Regions from separate parts of the Homo sapiens genome. Here region 1 is linked to region 2. Evidence: promoter capture Hi-C in human tissues and cell types (Jung and others, 2019). All regions are on one chromosome and are shown on one strand. Each heading gives the region's core, a stretch centred on a gene start or on the middle of the fragment in contact. The rest is flanking DNA. Distances are from core to core; before and after follow the strand shown.

Evidence for each region. The method cuts DNA at HindIII sites, captures the fragments that hold promoters and counts their contacts. A contact is called where the count stands out against the background at its distance.
Region 1: a contact is called between a fragment that was not itself captured here and the fragment with the promoter of KIF13B in region 2, in 1 of the 25 tissues and cell types used here (lymphoblastoid cells).

Annotation. Positions count from the first base shown.
Region 1 is chr8:29,779,871-29,786,338 of GRCh38, forward strand. The region is part of intron 1 of LINC02099 (long intergenic non-protein coding RNA 2099); the gene reads left to right. Among named protein-coding and RNA genes, the nearest start is that of LINC02099, 35 kb to the left of the region's middle. The HindIII fragment of the contact is 4,550 bases long and covers 2,140-6,468 here.
Region 2 is chr8:29,257,411-29,264,809 of GRCh38, forward strand. It overlaps KIF13B (kinesin family member 13B), which reads right to left and starts at 5,660. Exons shown (of 40, transcript NM_015254.4): 1 at 5,570-5,660. The coding sequence starts at 5,624. RefSeq lists a silencer at 5,038-5,867. The HindIII fragment of the contact is 11,996 bases long and covers 2,874-7,399 here.

The DNA.
Region 1 (6,468 bases), core at 3,165-5,664, 520 kb after region 2:
TGTGGGATCCACTCATGGCTGATAAATAAATCAAACATGATACAGGAATTTGTGAAGAGATAGGTATAGGTAAGGAAGCTTGATTTTTTTGCTTTCGTTTTTTTTTTAAGTCTGATCTACCCCAGAGAAGCCAAAGAATGGAATTGCCATCCAAGTGGATAAGGGTCCTGAACTGTGGGCTTTCCCAGAAGCAAAAAAAAAGGGAAATGTTTGGAAGCAAGAGATGCTCTAGTGGCAACTGATTAGTGCTGTGGGAAGACTAGAAATGCTGTTGTTAGAAAAATTAAATCACTGCATGTTTGGATTTGCACCCCACAAAGGAACCCTAAGTGCTTCTCTATGCTGACGGGGCCTGGCTGTGAGCAGGGAGAATGGCTGTGTGTTTCTGTCCCAAGGATGTACACGAGGGCTGGAGAAAGATTTCTCTGCTGCTACGGGGCACCGAGAGAATTGCCTTCAGCTCCTCTCTGGAGTGGAGGAGCCACGCCAGGGACTAAAGCCTCTGACACTTGGCTTCTCCTGGCAGCTCGGTGGGCTAGGCAGACTATGTTGTCTGTCCTTGAGGAAGGCAATGACTATCTGGGCTCTTCAGAAACATGCAAAGAAGGCCTGGCCACTGGTCAGCTTTTCAAGTGGATTATCATTTCCCAAATGTCCTCACATCTGGTTTCCAGGCCCGAGGAAGGAGCTGTTGTAAGCAGCTGTTTCAGGCAGCAGCAGATCAGGAACAGAGTCTTCATTAGCCTCATGTCTGCCACTAGATTTTAGGATCACTTGCGTTAGTCCTTTTGATCTCGCAGAGTCTCAGTTTCCCCATCTGTAAAATGAAGGTGGGGAAGGTCCGACCAAATGTGTCTTTTCAATTTCAGCTCTAAATTCTACAGTCGATTTGAGAAGATTGCTGAATTGCCGAAAAACTCTTTTCATTATTATTTATTTTAGTGAAGCCAGGTTTCTAGAATAATGCCAAGCTAGCCATTGGAAGCTCAGGTGAAGTCAATAAACAGGCCACCCTCATCCATCTAAAGAGTCTGAGAAACAAAACAAAACAGAGGCAGATGGAAGGCCCAGAACAAAGCATGAGGTTTTAGATCTAAGAAACAGATAATTCTCTCTCGTCCTAAACCCCATTCCAAATTCCCATTTCAACTTGTACTTGACTTCTGAGTGTTCATGTGGACACAGCCCAGTGTAATGGAAAAGCACAGGAAAAGGAGTCCAAGAGCTCGTTATAGTTCTATCACTTAGTAGACAGGGTAGCCAATTTCCCTGTTCTTTTCAGAACCCCTGCTCTGTAGTCCCTGTGAGAGGGTGAGGGGTTTGGGAAGCAGAGGTGGAGAGGAAGCCCTGAACCAGGATGGGCCAGTCAGATCTACACTTCCCCAAAGCTGTCACTGGAACGTGGTCAGGGGTGCTCCAGCCTAGGGCCACCATTCATCTCTGCTGGGGCATCATCTGGGAGAGAACACGGGGAACAGATTTGGCTCATGAAGAGGTTGGGCTATTGAGAAAAACGAGATGTAAAGAGATGAGCAGAGAAACAAATACGAGAGACCATATGGAAAAGAGAGAGAAGGAGAATAAGAAACCTTAGTTTCCAAAGGTTTTAAGCTCCTGGTTCCATTCCTTTTGGCACTTCTTGCCCCGAGGTCTTGGGCTTACCTTGACCCTCACCTTGTTCAACTGGGTTTCTCTTACACACAACCAATCTCTGAGAACCCTTATCTCACCATGATTTTGTATAAGTGGCTTTATCTCTGGGTGCCTCCATTTCCTCTTCTGTAAAATGTAGCAGCCGGCATATGTATTTCTGTTTCTTTTCTAGCCCTCTGATTATATGAAAGACTTCTGCAAAGCAAAGTGGGATAAAGTCATAGCGACTCCCTTCCTTTCCCCCAGTTAACCAGATCCAGACCAACACCAAGCCTCATTGTTCCATGTAAACAGCCCCACTAGCTGTTTTCTTGGTAGAGGTCACTGTCCCTTTGAGAAACCAGGGATGCAGAATAGAAGTGTGGACCCAGATTCTCACGGAACAAGTACAACATGCCAGCACTCCATAGTGCCAAAGATGAGCCCGGGAGCTGGCCCACACCCACGCAGCTCCTGTCTACCTCTGCCATCCCTGTGGCCCATGCGTGTATTTATAACTCTAGTGTACCTGTTGGAAAATGAGGCCGAGGCTGCAACAGTGCTCTGGCTTCAGAGCTTTTTCTTAGACTCTGTCTTCAGCCCCCTTGAATAGGTAGAATGTTAGTGACTATGTACAATTTCAATTGGAGTTTCCATTGCACAGGGTCCTCAGACTGTCTACGTTGCATTTCACCAGTCCATTGTCTGCCACAATGGAATGCTGTATGGGTGGCCGGGCACTGTCTCTTTATAGCAGCTGAACTGCAAGGAAAAACAGAATATATTGCAGCTGTAAGGAATTAGATTAGACACACACACACACAGAAAAAGAAAAAGAAAGAAAGAAAAAAGAGAGAGAGAGAGAGAAAAAAAGTTCCCTAGGGTGGTAAGACAGTGGTGTATATTAAAAGGGACAATGTGTTAACGAAATCTCAAGATATTTTCAGAAAGAGCAGACAGCTTCCCCCGGGTATGGCTGGAAGTGCAGCCCTGCATTTCCAGGAATAGATGTGATGACATCTTGACATCTCAGTGTCCCTTCCCTGCCTAGACTGATGATGGCAGGGTCTCTGTCAGAGGATCCCTCTTCCCCCCTTGCACCAAATTTCCATCAATTTCATCATTACTGTCCACTCTCCTATAATTGCCTGAAACGGTCCGTACTTTAGGCAACTATACCTTTACTCTTTCCCGTTTAGTGCTCACCACCAACCTACTTCACCACCAATCCACGCCTCATGTAGGAGGGGAGACCTAACGGCAAGAATCTGGATATGATGAACAAGTGGGCAATCTCCTCCTGCAGCTGAGCTGGCTGCCTTGTGCATAACTGAGAATATATGGCCCTCTGTCCCTCATTCATGTTGTCCATATCACCCACCCTCCCTAAAGGGGCCCTTCATGGGACAGCACAAAAGGCTTCCAGAGACGCAATCCCTCTCGCATGACCCCAACTCCCTGCCGCCACCAACCCACAGGTACTGATTACCTGATCCAGCTGACCAGTAGAAAACTCAACCTCAGGGCTCTGAATCCCGGGGAAACTCAGCCCACGAGGCTCCACACTCAGGCTGGTCCTGGCCCCATTCATAAAACATCAGTGTATCCTATTGGTCTCTTGTTGGATGTCTGGATTTTTAAGAGCTTCTAGTGAGAGGAGAGGACATGGGACACAGTTATTTAGTAACCCTCATCCCCACCATGGGGTGCTTAACAGTCAGACCACTCAGCATCCCCAAAAGATACTGCATCATTTATTCAATACTTGTTCATCAAGGATTTATAGCTTCCAAAAGCCTCTTTTATCCACTCACTTTCTCTTTATTCCCACAGTCATTTCCCTCATTCAGGGAAAAGAAACAAAATGGCCCTAATATTTCTTAGTGTTCGGCCCTGTGTTTTGTGTGCTGCATGTATATTTTCTTGTAAGTTCCTGCTAGATTTCTGAAGCAACTTTCTTTTGTTTTTCTCTCTCACTCTGTCGCCCAGGCTAGAGTGCAGTGGTGTGATCTCAGCTCACTGCAACCTCCACCCCCTGGATTCAAGCGACTCTCCTGCCTCAGCCTCCCAAGTAGCTGGGATTACAGGCACCTGCCACCACAGCCAATTAACTGTTGTATTTTTAGTAGAGGCAGGGTTTCACCATATTGGCCAGGCTGGCCTCAAACTCCTCACCTCAAGTGATCTGCCCACCTCGGCCTCCCAAAGTGCTGGGATCACAGGTCTGAAACAACTTTCTAAATGTACTTCCAGCCTCCACGTGCAACCTTCTTCATCCATACCCCACACAGATGCCAGAGGATCCTTCTAACATATGCTTTTCTCTTGGAAATACTGACAGTTCCTTACTGTCTTCTGGATAAAACTGAAGAGATATAGCCCTCAGTGCTTGCTCTGGCCTCAGCATCTTCTCCAATTGCCCCCTACAAAGGTCCCATAAAGGAACTTTGTCACTCACTCTTACTCAGAATATATTTCCATGCACCATGGGCTTTGCCCACACTAGACCACTTGTTTAAATTGTCTCCACACCTGTCTCATTTGGCAAACTCTTCTCTGTTTATCAAGCTTAAATATCATCTCATCTTTCTATCCTTCTCAGGCCTTTGTCTCTTCTTATAACACTTTATATAAGCTTCGCTTATAGCACAGCTCACATTGCATTATAGATCTGTGATGTGTTACTCAGGGTAAACCAACTGCTATGTCAAACAACTCAAAAATTTTCATGGCTTGACACCACAAAGGTCTATTTCTTGCTCAGGCAGCAGTCTAATGGGAAAGTTCCTCCTGGAGGCTCACCACCAAGTGTTGACTCAGGGATCCAGGCTGATTCCATCTTATCACTCTGTTATATCTTAAGACCCTGGAGTCCTTTACTCCCAAACACATAAACAGCAAAAAAAGAATACGGAGGATAGAGCAGATTTTAAGGGTCCAGGCCTGGCCCAATCTCCAGCCATTGCTCTAAGACAACAAATCTTCACTCATATCCCCTGACTGTACTTCTCACAGGACTCTCAGTCTACCATACCACTGATTTGGGCCCTATAAATATCTTCAAGAGAACAAAAAACAAATAGCAATTATCTAGCCAACGATAACTTTATTTTCCAACAGACCTGCTCCTTCAAGAAAGGCCATAGTAAGGTTTTGGGTATCAGCAGGGCTTTTCACGTTAGGGAGCCATTGGTATGAGACAACTGACATGTGTCCACAGCTTCCATTTTCATCTGTTAATATTCAATTACTCACCATTGTGGCAGTCTGGGAAATTAAGTTAACAGAGAAATCTAAAGGGCTTATCATATTTACCATTAAACATATGGAATCAGTCACATTGTGAGAGCTTCTAAGACTCTAAGGGATTCCTGATCACCTCCTTCAACTCTGTGGCATATTTGTTGAAGGATAATCCTCTCTAGTGTACCTAGTGATCATTTAGAAAACAAACAAAAAACAGGTTTTTCTCCTCTTTCACATCAGCCTTAGGATTATAAAAACAATATAGGTCTTAAGGGTAAATAAATACGTTACTAGCCAATACATACATGGGAGATTTGATATTATCTCCTAAACCAAGATCACAAGAGAACATAGATAAGGACTTTCTATTGTTGACCAGATTTGGAAAAGGGGAATATCCCTTCTAATACAAACAAAAATAAACCAAAAATCTTCTTGAGGTGTGAGGGAGGACACATCTTTAACAGGAAAATAGTTTTTAAAATAATTGCCATTTGGCGCTTAGTGAATTTAAGGAATAATTTAAGCTTGGATTTCCAAAGCTCTTCTATCCCTCATGAGCCCGGGTTATAGTCCATAGAATTGATTAAGGAAACTGAGGCAGGGAAGGGTTAGGTGATTTAGCAGTGGTCATACTGCAAATCACAGGTTTTTCTGGGACCTGTTCTTGCACCCAGCCTGGGGCACATTTCATGAGCAGATGCACAAAGGAAGACCATAAGTACCACTTTAGTTCCATTTGCTTTCCTCCTGTTCATTCTTCATCTCACTCCCAATAGACTTCCCCTCACAGCTATCCACTGATGTAGCTAAGCCTCTTCAATGATCTTCACACCATTAAGTCCAATGTATCTTTTCTAGTCCTCACCTTACAGAATCTCTAAGCAGGATTTGACTTAGAAGACCACTGCTTTCTTCTTCAACACAATCTTTTTCCCTTGGTCACCATCACATCACACCTCATGGTTTCTACTCTCTGGCTGCGCCTTCTCTGTGTCCTTCACCTACTCATCCTCTCAGTTTAGGCCATCAAGACTTATAATACCAAAGACTCCACACTGGGCCCTCTTATCTTCTCTCTCTGTACTTTCTGTCCATCTTGTCCATGTTTATGGCTTCAATAGCCAGTCATTCATAAATCCCAAATTTATATCTCCAGCTAACACCATCTTCTGAGTTCCGGTCCTGTACTGTATCTCCATTTCTACTTACAGATGCCTCAAATTTACCTTGCAGTCTAAGCCCAAGCATTCTCTCCCTGCATTAGAGCCACTCCCCTTCCAATGTCTATCCCAATGAATGGCACTGCCGTCAATTCAGTAGTGCAATTTAAGAGACCTGGAGTCATTCTTGGTGCTTTCCTCTCCCTCCCTCTCCAGATTTTATGCATTACCGAATCCAGTCCACTTAACCTCTAAATACCTCTCAAATATATCCATTTCTCTTCTTCCCTATTCCCATATCACAAAGTCAAACCACCATTGTGTCCTGCGTAGGCTACTTCAACAAGCACTTAACAGATCTCCCTGCACCTGTTCTTGCCATCTTCCAGCCTATTATCCTGCAGTCAAAAAATATATATATTTTCAA
Region 2 (7,399 bases), core at 4,410-6,909:
TCCATTTCCACTCAATCAGCACTTCAATCCATCTCCTTAATTAATAGTTTTGTCAGTGGTTTCTTCCATTTTCAGCACTTAAGAAGTGGAAAAGTCGGACAGTTATTGTTTTATGGAGGTGAGAGGGTAAAAGCTAATGCCAATTAAACAACATTGTATTTTATATTATAAATGTATATTTCTTGAAAAGAGGTCTGGCCAGCCAGAGCAACAAAGTGAGACCCTATCTCTACAAAAAATATTGAAATTAGACAGACATGGTTGTGCACACCTATGTACCAACTCCACAGCAGGCTGCAGCAGGAATATCGCTAGAGCCCAGGAGGTTGAGGTTGAGGATGCAGTGAGTGATGATCATGCCACTGCACTCCAGCCTGGGCAACAGAGGGAGACCCTGTCTCAAAAAAAATAAATAAATAAAAACAAAGAAACCAACCAACAAACAAAAAACAGGAGATTTGGGGAAAAGAATTTAAAAGTATACCTTCTTCTCAAAATGCCTCTGGCCCTATGTGCATATATCCAAATTTCAGTCACTGAGTTGACAGTAGAAACAAAACAATGTTGTAATACATGTGTGTCTCATTCACCATTAGCATGTCAAGCAGATGCTGACAAAACAAGTATCTTCTGTTTTAGCAAATACTGCCAGAAATTTCCATCCACGGTCCTCCTTGGCTCCACATCTGTCAGTGATCTCTCTGAGAATACTGAAGAATCACCAATGACCCCAGGGGTCAAAGCCACCTTCTCCTGTCCCTTCATTTCCTAAGGGTCACCTCTATCTTCACTGACTACCAGCATCTTCTAAGCTTCCTCGCACTTGCTGGGTTTTTCCTTTGCCTGTTGATTCACAGCTGCTTAATTTTGACCGACTTCCTTATGCTTCCCATTCACAAGGCTTCATTTTCAGCAAGCGCTTTTAAATCCTGCCCAGCTATGCCAGAAATCGGTCATCTACTGAAGCTTCCAATCTTGCTTTGGGATCTAGCAATCTTTCCCCGTTGTGTTTGTGTCCAAGCCCCATACAAGGTCCCAAGAAGCAAAACAGAGTGCGTGGACCAGCCACCCTAGGTCCGGACTTCTGGCCTGGCTGCTTTCAGGGCTTCCTGCAATCCACCTGACCTTTCCTGTCCCATCATTCTCTAGCTATCCTCACAGAATCTCCATTCTGGCAGGCAGATCTCATCTCTGCTGCCTAAACCTGCTTTACTCATTCTAGTCTCTGTGTCCTCACTCTCAGGCCATACTTCCTCCTCAAAGAATACATGCCATCCCCTCTCCCGTGCTCACATCATAAGCTTCCTCCCTGGAAGTCCAACCAAAGTTCACCCTCCTCAGTGAAGTCTAAACTCCTCTCGATTCCCTTATTTCCCTGTCATTCACCTGGCACTTAGTAACTAGCAGCCTGCTACAGCTGTTTACCTTTTAATCTAATCTTTTCACAGGCATTTTCTTTTCAAGCCCATGACAGTCATTTCCTCACAGGCATGAACCATAAAGCATGCTTTAAGAAACTGAATATGATGGTAACAGGCAACCCTAAGAAAACTTTTAGGAAGTAAAATCCCCCTAACAAGAACAATCAATTTCACTTTTTCATGTTTCTTTCTAGCTCTTGCCCATTCCTGTATACATTTTTACATAGTAATAATAATAGATTTGATCAGTTACACGTACAGCTTTACATTCTTTTTCCACTAACAGAGAAAACGATCTTCCTTGTTAAATGGTTTTGACTGTCATCATTTTAATCGCTGTATAATAGTCCCTCCATTGAGATACTAGATCATGATTACCAAGGCACTGACTCTACATTGACTCTATTAGACATTATTACATACTTCTGTGTCTTTCACCACATCAAGTATTGGAAAATGCCAAGTAAACTCATTTGAAATATCTCCTGAAATAAATTTCTTGTCCATTCTCCCTAACACCTGAAATAATCTATTTCACTGTTTCTATCTTCATTTCTTTCGTTTCCCGGTTCTACCCCCTTAGGCTAGGTAGGTAACAAAGGTATTCCAAACACCTTTTATAGATATTTACTTATTTTGGTAGTTGATCTTATACAGATTTACACACAGGAAATCCCTTGAGGAAAAGCATTAAGATCTCATCCTATCTAATATAAGCCAGATACCTGGCAGGCACTCAATCAATGTTTGCTTACCTATTAAATGTTTTTTAAGCCACCTAAAGTTAGAAAACATCAAATTCCTGGAAAGGAGAATGTTGCTGATCTAACTAATCCCACCAATTACGGCTACAGAACTTTCAGCTCCTGTAATGATTAGACGGGTTAATAATGTATGAATGGGTGTTCTGTGCGGCACATGGAAGCACACAAGAATTATCTGTTTAGCTGTACAGTCTGAACAACAACACTGGAAAACAAACGATATCTGCAAATAGAACTTGAAGATCTTGTGACAAAAATTTACCCTTTTCTCTAGTTGTTTAGCTTTGCATCTCAGATGAAGAAAGGCAAAATAAAGGTTGTAATATTAAAATTATGTAAAATTACATACACGTGTGAGCACAAACTGGCATGGAAATGAAAAGCTGTTAGGATGAAGAAAGTATGTGAACTTTTTTCTTTTTCTTTTTCCTTTTGTTAGTGGAATGTTAAAATAAATGTATGACTAGACAAATATTTCTGACAAATTAGCCATTACAACTCTTCCTGTTACTGAATTAGGGCCTAATGCTTAACCTTCAAATAACTAAGGTTCCCAAACCCACATACAGTTTAGCAGAAAGACTAAAATACTCTCACTTCGAGGATAACTGTTAAATAATAAATCAGCTAACCACCTTAAAACTCCAAACACCTAAGCACAACCACTGAATCACACAAGAACTTAATACACCAGAGTTTTCTGGAAATTTTCAGATTTTCCTCAAAAGATAGCTAATGTGATTCCAAATATCAGAGTCTACACAGTAAAACTACATCATCACAGTAACCCATTCTCATCCCCGTCCTCTTTTATAGATAGCGATTTATAAGGTTGCTTCCGGCACCTATATGATAGAAACTATTAGGACTCAAGTTTTACTCTTTGTCATAATTATACAGTATTACATAATACTAATAACTGTTCAAAGTAATATTCTTTTCAAAATTACTGGAAAGGTTCCTACAGATCATACAAGGAAGAAAAAAAAGGAAATTACTGGAAAGAAATATGGTTTTGTTTTAGTCTTTTTTTTTTTTGAGACAGAGTTTCACTCTTGTCGCCCAGGGTGGAGCACAGTGGCACGATCTTGGCTCACTGCAACCTCCGCCTCCTGGGTTCAGGCTATTCTCCCGCCTCAGCCTCCTTAGTAGCTGGGATTACAGGCGTCCACCACCACGCCCGGCTAATTTTTTGTATTTTTAGTAGAGACAGGGTTTTGCCATGTTAGGCAGGCTGGTCTCGAACTCCTGACCTCAGGTGATCCACCCGCCTCGGCCTCCCAAAGTGCTGGGATTATAAGCGTAAGCCACCGTGCCTGGCCTGTTTTAGTCTTTTTATACAAACTTTGGACACCAATTTTTAAAAATCACTGGATTTACAATCCCACCACACTGTATTCCATAATAACCTTTATATTTATGTGAACAATTACTTCATAACAAAAATGGAAAAGAACAAATTTATGTGTGGTAATCACTGAAAAAAGAAGTCCACATGCACGTCAGGAAATATAAGGCTAAGAATGGGCACTAAGTGAACACAGGAGGTACTTTACACCAAATAATGCACTTCTCTATATAGGCTAATGGAATCTATGGGTAAACCTCAATTTCAAAATGATTGTTGAACCCAAGGATCAGCTCACATCCGTTCCACAGCTAAAACTATTATTCTTTGCCTTCCTCTAAACTCTGATGTTTATTACAACCTTATCAATGGCAATTTATAAGAGAAAAGCATAAGAATTTCCCTCAAAAAGTGAAACCAATGGGGAAAGGGAGAGGGAAAGGGCTCTAAATATCTGAGATGTCTTTTGTGGTGGTTGGTTAGCGGCCTCTTTTTAGCACTGACATTTCCAAGTTTTTTGTGAAAAGGAAATTTTAAGAATGTGCTGAAACCATCCTTTCAGAATCAATTCCCAGATAAGTTATGTTTCATTTGGCTTCTTTCTTTAAATTATTGTGATGGTAAACTGGAAGTAAACTGAAATACAGATACCTGAATATTTAAAAACTGATGCTTCTGAAAATTTTCAGAATTGTATCGACGTTTATTGTGTGTTGTCAGAGCACGAGATTAGTGAAGCAAAGCAGGACTCAATCTTGCACTAGTTGAGAACTTAAAGTAATTAAGTTCTTAGGGAAAAAAACTCACCTGACAGCTTTAATCGGACCTAGCAGGAACAGGACAAAACAATTCCCATAGATGAGATAACTCCAAGCGAGAAACCAATTTCCCCGAGAAGGACAAACCAACAAAGCTTATGTCAACTGGTTGATCTGTATGTCTCAATATATACAAAAGAAAGCAAAGAAGAGGAAAACAACCTATAATTTCTACATAAAAATTAAACAACACTTGATTTTGCTAAGAAGCTACAACTTTGTCTCTGGTACTTAAATGATTCTAATTAGTTCAAAGTCTCATCAATGGCAAAGTCATCTCCTGAGACAGTAATAGTGACCCCCAATGACAGGACCTTGTATATAAAGCGTTTTCAAACACATTATCTTATTTAAAGCAACTCACCCAGTCATGCTGCTTTGACTATCAAAGCCAAGACCCAGCCCACCTCCTCCCCTGACTTTTGGGGTTCTCTCCACTCCCCGGGTCTACAGATTATTTAAATGTACTCGGTTTATCTGCCTTCTCTACACTCCCTGCAGAGTTAAGAGAATGTCAGAAAGATACAATTCCACAAGAATCTTGGCACTTTAGCTATTTATTGAGAGATGATGAATGAGACTTCAGGCAAAACCAAAACTTTCTCAACTGTCCAAAAACAACGAAAAGGGCATCTCCTCCACCTGACCCCAATCTCAGGACGCCCAGGTGGAAGGAACTCGCCGCGGGGCACCCGCCTGGCCCCCTGCCCTTCTTCCCGCCGCGGGCCAAGGCGGTGCAGGCTTGGGCGACCCGGGCGAGACGCGGGGTCCCGGGGGGTCCCGGGCGGTCCCGAGGCGGGCTGCAGGGGCTGGCGACCCGCGCGCGGGGGCGACGATGACAGCTGGCGGGGAAGGAGCGAGGCTGAGGGGCCAGGACGAGGCTGGGCGCGAGGGCCGAGGGCGCCCTCGGGAACCTCCGGGGGAGACGAGAGGGCAAAAGGGCGCAGGGGCGGGGCGGGCGCAGGCGGAAGGGGCAGCGGGGCCGGCACGAGGGGCCCGACGGCGCCAGGGACGGGGCTGGCCAGGGGGGAAGGGAGGGGAGAAGAGGGAGCCGGGCGTCTCAGCGCGGGAGCGGGTTTCAGGGTCCCCGGGCCCCTCCTCGCGCCCCGCCGCTGACTATAGGGGCGGGGCCGCCGGACCCCCCACGGCGGCCGAGGGAAGGGCGCGCCAGGCACCTGCCGCCTCCGCCCCGGCGGCCCAGGAGGGCTCGGCTCTCACCTCGCCGGTTCATGGGTCGTATCCGCACCGCCACTTTCACTTTGGAGTCCCCCATCCTGCAGCCGCCGAGGAACTCGTTCGGCTTCCGTCTGCCGCGGCCACCGGCGACTCTTCGGGGTTGACCCGGCGGGAGGGGGCCGGGGGCGGAGCCGGGGGTGGGGACCGGGCTGGGGGCGGGGCCGGCGCGAGCTCCGGGCGCTCCCCGCTGTATGGCGGGACTTGTAGTTCCCCAGGGTCGTCGTGGGCGGGGCCGCAGCGAAGGCGGGGGCGGGAATGCTCGGGCGCGAGTCGTTTGCTACAACTTACCTACAGCAATGACGGCTTTTGTAAATTACACACCATTCTTGCTCTCGCAGCCAGTATTGAGAAGTAAGCCTTCAAGAGCTGATACCTCTTCTGAAAAACAATTGAATAGATGGCGTCAGGGACCCCGCTACCTCTTCCTGCTCATTTCCTGCCAATCTTAGTGTTTGATCCCTGGCTCAAGTTATTTCCTCTGCCTGGATTGACGTCCGGCCTTGTTTGCTGAGCTCGTCCTTCACGACAAGTTGCAAATCACGTTTTCTGGGAGTGTCCATAGGTCCACGGGTTAACATTGTCCTGTGAGTCCCCCTCCTTTGAGACAGGACCTTGGGCTCTGAAAACCATCTGAGTTCAAAGCCCACCTCAGCGCTTCCCACTGTGTGACCAGGGGCAAGTTATTTGACCGCTCTGGGCTTGTCTTTAATATGAAAAGTGGATATGATACTAATACCTAGTAAAATAGGTACATTTTTAAATAAGATTAACATATGTGTAACCTAGCCTTTAGTAGAGACCCATAAACATTAATTGCATGAATTAATGAATGAGGCCACACTAAAATTAGCTTTTTATTAGCCCTGGCAGACATTCTAACAGGTGGCCTGGGTGCCAGAGCCAGCACGCAAACATGTTCTGTTTGGCCCAACAGTGTTGGCCAACACATAAAAATCAGATTTGTGGCCAGGTGCAGGGGCTCACACCTGGAATCCCAGCATTTTAGGATGCTGAGGCAGGAGGATTGCTTGAGGCCAGGAGTTTGAGACCAGCTTGGGTAACAGAGTGTGAAATCAGATTTGTGCATGCAGTACTGGGCCTACATTACATATTGGACAGAGTGGATTGGAACTAAATAGCAGCAGCCACCTTTATCAGAGACCCGTCTCTCCACTTCACCACGGCCCCCCTCCAGGTGGCTTTACCACACATGCGCCTGGACCTTGTGGGTTTGTGACCCCTGCTTAGATGTGTTTAAATGATAGTAATAGAACTCAGAACCATTTTACAGATGAGTAAATACAGAAAGCTGGTAAGACTTGCCCTTTTACCAACCATCCTGTTATTGAGTATCTTCAATACAAGCAATGTTGTCAAAAAGTATAAAAATACTTTTTTTTTTTTGAGATGGATCTAGCTCTGTCACCCAGGCTGGAGTACAGTGGCATGATCTCGGCTCACTGCAACCTCCACCTCCTGGCTTCAAGCGACTCTCATGCCTCAACCTCGACAGTAGCTGGGATTACAGGCATGTGCCACCAATCCTGGCTAATTTTCATATTTTTAGTAGAGACGTAGTTTTGCCATGTTGACCAGGCTGGTCTCGAACTCCTGACCTCAGGTGATCCACCCACCTCAGTCTCCCAAAGTGCTGGGATTACAGGCATAAGCCACTGTGTCCGGTCTAAAAATACCTTTAAAAGAAAGGAAATTCTGAAACATGCTGCAACATGGATGATGGGCCTTGAAAACATTATGCTAGGTGAAATAAGCCAGACACAAAAGAACAACCACTGCATGGTTCTACATATA